2 separate regions of the Homo sapiens genome follow, and region 1 is linked to region 2. Evidence: promoter capture Hi-C in 16 types of primary human blood cells and fetal thymus (Javierre and others, 2016). All regions are on one chromosome and are shown on one strand. The core of a region is centred on a gene start or on the middle of the fragment in contact, and the rest is flanking DNA. Distances in the headings are between cores, read along the strand shown. Region 1 overlaps FBXW2 (F-box and WD repeat domain containing 2). Region 2 holds the start of GSN-AS1 (GSN antisense RNA 1).

Evidence for each region. Contacts are between HindIII fragments. The CHiCAGO score rates a contact against its expected background, and 5 or more counts as called.
Region 1: a contact is called between a fragment that was not itself captured here and the fragment with the promoter of GSN-AS1 in region 2, in 1 of 17 cell types (total B cells). The highest score is 5.2, in total B cells.

What each region holds. Positions count from the first base shown.
Region 1 is chr9:120,764,218-120,768,276 of GRCh38, reverse strand. FBXW2 (F-box and WD repeat domain containing 2) reads left to right here. Exons shown (of 8, transcript NM_012164.4): 8 at 3,430-4,059. The coding sequence ends at 3,718. Among named protein-coding and RNA genes, the nearest start is that of FBXW2, 27 kb to the left of the region's middle. RefSeq lists an enhancer at 1-211. The HindIII fragment of the contact is 1,627 bases long and covers 1,970-3,596 here.
Region 2 is chr9:121,283,405-121,287,572 of GRCh38, reverse strand. It overlaps GSN-AS1 (GSN antisense RNA 1), which reads left to right and starts at 2,043. Exons shown (of 1, transcript NR_103560.1): 1 at 2,043-4,168. All of the region lies in intron 2 of GSN (gelsolin), which reads right to left. RefSeq lists a silencer at 1-162 and enhancers at 302-1,501, 2,316-2,816. The HindIII fragment of the contact is 6,763 bases long and covers 422-4,168 here.

The DNA of each region.
Region 1 (4,059 bases), core at 1,534-4,033, 520 kb after region 2:
CTGCCTAGTTTGTGGAGTAAGGGAAGGCTTCTAAGAGGAGACATTTGGGCTGAGCTCTAAAGGGTGAGTATAAATGCCTTAACTAAGTACCAGGAGTGGGTGTACAGTGAGGAATTTTAGACTGAGACACTAGTCCGTTCGAAGGCCCTGAGGTTAAAGGAGCCTCAGGTACATTTGAGAAATTGAAGGAAATTCCTTAAATGCATCAGCATGGCTAAAGATGGGGGCACAATAAGGAGCCATCAAAGAGTTTAGAAGTTGAAACAAGGTGATAACATCAGGTTGTATGTGAGGTTAACTGATTCAAAGGGACTAAGTAGATGTGGGGAGGTCAGTAGAAAGCTGTTGGCAATAGTGCAGGCAAAAGATGGTGTCTTGGACTAGAGCTGTGGTAGTGCATATATTAGTGAACAAATTAGAGAAAAATTTAGGGCATAAAATCAATAGAGCTTGGTGATCGAATTTGTGATTTGAATGAGGAGGAGGAGGAGAATTGGATGGTTGCCACGTTTCCTAGCTTGAGCACCTGGGTGAATGAGCAAGTAAAGAAATAGAAAAAACAGGTTTGACTAGGAAATTCAGTATTGGATAGTTTGAGTGTGAGGAACTTTGTCTTATTCACTGCCGAAATCCTGGTACCAACATTGGCTAGCTCACTTTAGGCTCTTAGTAAATATTTGTTGAGTGAATGAATATGAGTCATCTAAGTAGAAAATGATGGATGAGTTATCAGTTATAACTCATTTGGAACACACATATTGGGACCTCTGATTCCCCTTTACTTGAAGTTAATCTGAACTTACTGCTTTCCCTGGGATCAGACTCCATCTTGTAAACCTGTTTATAAAGGCTGACACCATAGGGAGTGTTCAGTGATTGATTTTGGATGTTCTCAAACATGTCATCTAATCTAAATGTCTACCTCTTTTAGCAGAAGTTTCTTCCATTTTCAGTCTGGGAAGGTGAGCTTACTCTCTGCTTTTCAAGCAGGGGCCAGCACCTGTTAACTATTTTCTTAGTTTCATAGAAGTGATGTCTTGTTGATATTCTTAGTATCATAGATTTTTTTTTCAGATATTAATTATAAGAGAAACACATGCCCATGAGAGAGAATTTGTAAAATTTAGACAGGCTTTCCGTATTCTATCTATATTGCCCAGTTGCATTTCTTCTTCAAGAAAGAGAAAAAATATTCTTCCAGGTCCAGCTATAAAAGACAGAAAGATTTGCTCACTCCTTGATACTCCTGTTATATCCATTGGAGTGTTTGTGCTGAGCATGTTCTCACATACTCTGGCAGTTATATGCTATGCCCTCCCCTTCTAAGGGGCAAAGACTATCTTGCTTATCTCTCTTCAGGGGCCCAGCCAGCACTCAGCACCTATGATACTCAGAAAACATTTGCTAGGCCTGCATTATGTTAGCTGTATGACTCATGGCAAGATGTTTTAGTCTTGTTTACTGATATAGTGGAGAGAATACCTCTACCTAACTGCATTATGAGGATTGAGATAACACGCTGGGTGCAGTGGCTCACGCCTGTAATCCCAGCACTTTGGGAGGCTGAGGCGGGTGGAACACAAGGTTGAGATCGAGACCATCTCGCCAACATGGTAAAACCTCATCTCTACTAAAAATACAAAAATTAGCTGGGCGTGGTGGCGGGCATCTGTAATCCCAGCTACTCGGGAGGCTGAGGCACGAGAATCGCTTGAATCCGGGAGGTGGAAGTTGCAGTGAGCCGAGATCACGCCACTGCACTCCAGCCTGGTGACAGAGCGAGACTCCATCTCAATAAATAAATAAATAAAAATAATTAAAAAAGATAACATGTTAATTATGAAGTTCGGTGCCTTGCACATGTAAATGCTTGATAAATATTGAATGTCCCCCATCCTTCCTGATATGAGACTGAAATTGGCTCCTTTGTAACTCTTTGCCTCTGATCCTAGTTCTGTCTTCTAAAGCTTATAATGTCTGGGCTGTCTCTTACACATCTTTCACTATTCAGAAGTGATCCTCATATACAGTTACCCTATGCCTGCCAACTCTTTCCTTCCCCATCTCAGCTGATAGCCTTCAGCTGTTCTTCCTTGTCCTGGTCTCCAGGTCCTCCCATTCTGGTTGCTCTCTTGAACCTATACTAGTTTGGTGGTGTCCTTAAAACCTAGGCTAAACTCTCCTCCCACAGGAGCCCCACCATATGTCACAGAGCAGTATTTGTCTACTGCTTGTCTGGTAGCTCAGCTCTTAGTTCCTCCAAAGAGGACATCAGCTTTTCTTGTTAATCTTTTGCTTCACTAAGGGCGCAGACAACAGAAGCTAAGTTGTTTTTTGTTTTCCTTTGTGCTGCTGTTTAGCTAGGTGTCTCCTAGCCTTTGTCATTGATGTCTTGGAAACTGCCTCTGAGAAAGTTAGGGCTGTCCTCCCAACTCCCTACTTTTCTCTGCTTCCCCTAGTTGTTTCTTCCCTAGTTTTTTTCATAATAACTTTTTATGAATCTATTATTAATAAATGTTTCTAAGTTATTTGGGAAACTTTAAATATTTTCAGCCTTTACTGTTTTTAGAGAGAAACCCATTTGTTTGCTGCCTGCTGAGTAGAGTAGCACTTTAGTCACTTGGCTTTCAGGTTTCTTCTGGGCTTCAGGGTGTTCCAGTATTCTAGGAGTTGATGAATACATCTTTTTACCTAGTGGTAAGAGTTAACTCTTGCCTTCTAGTTCTCACTGGTAACTGACAAATTGTGAATCCTTAGCCAAAGCATTTACTCTGCCTGAGCTTTGGTTTTCACAGCTTAAAAATAGATTGTTTAGTTAAATGTTATCTGTAAGATCCTTTCTAGCCTGGATAGATGTTTTGTACTTTTATAAACTTTCATCAGGCCGGGTGCGGTGGCTCACGCCTGTAATCCCAGCACTTTGGGAGGCCGAGGTGGGCAGATCATCTGAGGTCAGTAGTTCGAGACCAGCCTGGCCAACATGGTGAAACCTCGTCTCTACTAAAAATACAAAAATTAGCCAGGTGCAGTGGCAGCCGTCTGTAGTCCCAGCTACTTGTGAGGCTGAAGCAGGAGAATCACTTGAACCTGGGAGGTGGAGGATGCAGTGAGCCGAGATCACGCCCCTGTACTCCAGTGTGGGCAACACAGTGAGACCCTGTCTCAAAAAAAAAAAAAAAAACTTTGATCAAACACCACCTTTCCCTTCCATGCCAATATTATATAATGACTGAACGCACCTCTCCCGCTCCCGGCTTTTTTATAAGTGGGCTGAGCTTTTCTCCTTATATTTTACTTTTTATCAAAAACATTTAACTCTAAATTTGCTTGAATTTAATATTGGTTTTAAATATCTCCAGAAAAGATTACAGTAGCATAAACAGAAGCAAGGTTGCCTTCTTTCACAGTCCCTAACTCTCATCCTTGTAGGGTCATCAAGACTCCTGAGATAGCAAACTTGGCCTTGCTTGGCTTTGGAGATATCTTTGCCCTGCTGTTTGACAACCGCTACCTGTACATCATGGACTTGCGGACAGAGAGCCTGATTAGTCGCTGGCCTCTGCCAGAGTACAGGAAATCAAAGAGAGGCTCAAGCTTCCTGGCAGGCGAAGCATCCTGGCTGAATGGACTGGATGGGCACAATGACACGGGCTTGGTCTTTGCCACCAGCATGCCTGACCACAGTATTCACCTGGTGTTGTGGAAGGAGCACGGCTGACACCATGAGCCACCACCGCTGACTGACTTTGGGTGCCGGGGCTGCGGGTTTTGGGTGCAACCTCTGCGGCAGCCGACTGCATGAACCAAAGTTCTCACCTAATGGTATCATCACGCAGTGCACAATCATTTATCTATGTTTTGCCAGGGGCCAGGGCTCGGGGTGGGGGAGGGCTTGTTTTATTGACATACAACGCAGCATGCTAATGGGGTACACCATTGACTTCATTTGTACTTAGTTATGTTGGTCAGTGTTAGAGGATGCATTTTGGGTTCATCTTTCTTGAGTGGAGTATTGGTTTTAAGTAAAGAAAGTTAAATGATCCATTAATCTGCTAATTG
Region 2 (4,168 bases), core at 794-3,293:
GGAGCCAGTTTGAGCCGAGCAGTTCCCTAACACCTCTGTGGACCAGGTGTGCAGCAGGATCACCCAAGGAGCTCAGGAAACAATAGATTCCCAGGCCCCACCCCTAGCCTCTGAGTCTGTAGGTCTAGGGTGGGGCCCGGGAACCTCTGATTCTGAGGCTCAGCCAGGACTGGGCCCACATCTTCCTTTCACATTTGGGGAAACTGAGGCTAGGCAGGAGAGGGGCCTGGTCAGACCTAGTTGATCAAACAGTGGGAGAGCCAGGGCTAGAATTAGAGCCCTTTCCTCTTCTCGTCTCTCCATTCCCTCCGCCTCCCTCCCACTCCTCCCCCTGTCCTCAGCCTCCCGGTGACTCAGGGCTGAGTCACCCAGAGGCCCCACAGAGGAAACTTCTTAGGAAAAACAATCGCCAAACAAAGCTTTCCCTGATCTGGGGAAGAGAATAGGCCCAGGGGGCCAAGAGAGGGAGGGGAGGGAGAACACAGGGTGGAGTCGGAGGCTCCAAGACTTGGAGTCTCAGCCACTCCCTTGTGTGGGGCCCTAGATAGGGACGTCCCCGGAATGAACGTCCCCATCTGCAAATAACACCTCCTATGCTCATAGAAGCCCATTGTGATGATAAGTACTTTATAAGCATTGTCTTGTTGAATCCTCCCCAAAACCCATGGCTGGCATTGTCTCCTTTTATAGACGGAGGAACAAAAGCTCAGAGAGGTTCAGCCCAAGGTTACACCATTAGGAATTCAGGGCTGTCTGACTCTGAAGTCCGAAGTCTGACTCTCACTTCTACACACCTTTAAAAAATACCTACTGTACACAGTGGCATGAAGATCAGCTCTCATCAGACAGGTAAGGAGAATGATGGCCACAGTGGCTGTTCAATCACAAATTGTCTCCTTTCTTTCTCTGACTTCCCGGCCCAGAGGGCACACAAACAGGAACACCAATAGTCATTCAAGCAGTTGTGGGCCCTGGGAGCACAAAGGAGGGAGCACCCATGGCCCAACAGAGCCACGGAGGAGGGGCATTGGGGCAGAGCCTTGGAGGATAAATGGAGTTTCCCTTTTGGGAAGGTGGGAACAACAGACGCAAAGGCTTGGGGGTGTGGCCTGCACAAGGAAGCGTAAACAGTTTGGAGAAGCATGGCTGGGGTTGAGACAGTGGATACCTCGGGGAGAAGGGGTCTGACTGCTACGGAGTCCTGGCCTGACCGGACACACTGAGGATTTTTAAGCAGGGAGAGAATAGAATTGGAACTGGTTTCATCTCTGCAGGGGGCCTGGCTGGTGTTGAACTAGGAGTCAGGAGCGGGACTTTCCCTCGGGTCTCCCTGGCGTCCCTCCTCTGAGCTGGCTTCGGGGACCACCCCAGATCCCGTGCTACTCACCCATGGGTCAGAATTGCCCCTGAGGGCTTCTTCCTCGGCCATCGCGAGGCTGGGGGGAGCTATGTGGGCCTCTCCTGACACAGGCCAACCTAATCATCTCAGCCTATAAATAGGACTCAGGATTAGTCTGGAAATAGCTGTGCCAAGCCAACTCCGCAGGCATCACAGGCACACACAGTTCCGGAAATGGTTCTTCTCCTCAACACAATTAAAACCCAACACTTCCTCAGGAAACTATTGTTCACACTCCACTTTGCTTCCTTAAGCACAAGGCCGTCAATTTTGGGGGGAAGAACCTGCCTGCCTACTGCTGATTAGTGGGGGTATGCTTTGTGGAGAGGAGGCCCTTTTCCTGCTTCTCCCTCTCTGAGGACCTGAAGGAGTCACTACCATTCTCTGGGCCCCAGTTTCCCCAAAGGTAAATTAGGGAGGTGGGACATGATGCCATTTTTAACTTACCAGGATTTCAAAAATTAGAATTGTAATAAACATGTGAGCAGGGAGAAATGAACAGGTTCAGGGCCTGCCACTGAGGAGCTGAGTGGCCTTGGATGAGCCACTGTTCCTCTCTGGGCCCCAGATTCCTCAGCTGTAAAATAAAGGTGCTGGGGGATGATGTCCAAGATTAATAATTTTTTTTTAATTTCATTTTTTTGTTTAGTATTTTTGAGAACCCAGCCACCTGGCCATGCTGTACCAGCCTTGTGCTGAGTGCTGGGGATAAAGGAACAAATAAAACCCAGTCCAGGCTTCTGTGTGCCCAGCCCTGTGCCGGGTCCCAGTGGGTAACAGCATGTCCAATCCCCTCAGTGTCCCACTAGAGGCTTCCTTTGGGGCTGCTGGGGACATCTTGTTTCTAGTTGAGAATTCAGATTTATGTCCAAAGACAAGAACTCCCTGAGGGGCAGATTACAACATGGACTGGGCCATTACAATCAACAAGGACACAAAGCTAACACAGCCATCGTTATACACCAGACATGTGCTAAGGACTTGATTTCCCCATTGTTTAATCATCACCAACTCCATTATCACCCCCATTTCACAGATGTGGAAACTGAGGCTGAGAAGAGTAAGGGACTTGTCCAAGGGCACAGAGCAAGTCAGGGCTACGGTGATGTTTCAGGCCCAGACCTGTTTGCCTCTGGAGCCCAGGGTTTAACACACCCCAGTGCTGCTGTGAAAGGGCTCTGGACAGCTCAGGCTGGCCGGCCAATTCGGGGATAACCGAACAGAGGTATGGAACAGAAAGGGGCGTTGAGGATGTTGCTGTGTGTGTGCGGTGGGGGGAGTGACAAGGCTTCAGCAATGGTACTCATTCTCTCCAACCAGCTCCCAGTGCTGCTGTCCTCTGATCCACCCTCCGCTCTGCCTGCCATGGACTAATTGTTCTGAAATCCCATGGATCAAGTCACTCCTCAGCTGAGGACCTGTCCATGGCTCCCTGGTACCCAGAGGATAGAAACCCAGCATTCAAAACCTCTCTAACCAGCTCCCCACCTCAACCCTCACACTCCTGCTCACTAGCCCCCAGGCGCAGTGGGCTCTTCCAGCGGCCAAGCCTGTGCCTACGGTGCCTTCTTGCCTGGAATGCCCAACTCCCCCTTCTCAGCCTTCTTTGACTCTCAAGTAAGGAAAAGCACTCTTTGTCTCCCTGAGCCCCTTGGCACTTATCACAGAGCACTCTGGGCGTTAACTTCCACTGTCTCCGTCTTGGATTAGAGTGGATCTCAGAGGGCCCGGTGGTGTCTGCTTCACCTCCCTCTCCACTGCAGCAGCTTAGCAAGGACTGGCCGGGTAAACTAAAAAATGCAAAGAGCTGAGAGAATCCTGGGAAAGTGCACATTTCCCAGGACTGCCCAATGACAAGCCCCGTACCAAGGCACAGCATCAGGATACCCTGATGTGGAAGAACCAAAAATTGCACCCTCATGGCTTATCAGGATGGTCCTTGTGTCTGTCCCTTTCAAGGGTTCTGATAATGAAATCTGGGCAAGTCACCCTCCTGCTTTAAAACTTCCAATGGTTCCCAGAGGTCTAGCATAAAATCCAAACTCAAGGGCCCACATAACCTAGGTGCTGCCTGGCCCCCAGGCCCTCCTCTTGCCACGCCCCCCTCCCTGGCCAGCCTCCCTCACTTCTTTCAGTTCCTCAAGGACTCCCCCTCACTAAAGCCTTACCCAGGTCGCCTCTCTGCCTAGGGGGCTCCTCCATTCCCTGCTCACTCAGCCACCTCCCTCTCCCTCTTCAGGTCTCACTTTTTAGGGGAGGCTTCCCTGATCTGTCCAGATAAGACCTCACCACTCCCACCCAATCCCAAACGCTCCCATAACCTGATCGTTTCCTTCACAGCAAGAATTAATCTTCAGTGTAAATAATGATCTACTGAAGACCTATGAGGAATGGGAAAGTCTTGTTTTTTGCTGATTCTTCAACACCCAGCTCAGAGCCTAAATATCTCTCAAATGAATGAATATATGAATGAATGAATGAATGAATGAATGAATGAATGAACCTATATACATAAATCAAGACAAGAAGGTGGGCAGAATCCTAGGGAACACTGAGGCAGGAAAAGCAGGGCCCTGGGCCAGGCGTCATGGCTCACACCTGTAATCCCAGCACTTTGGGAGGCCAAGGCAGGCAGATCACTTGAGGTCAGGACTTTGAGACCAGCCTGGCCAACATGGTAAAACCCTGTCTCTACTAAAAACACAAACATTAGCCGGGTATGGTGGCACATGCCTGTAGTCCCAGCTACTCAAGAGGCTGAGGCAGGAG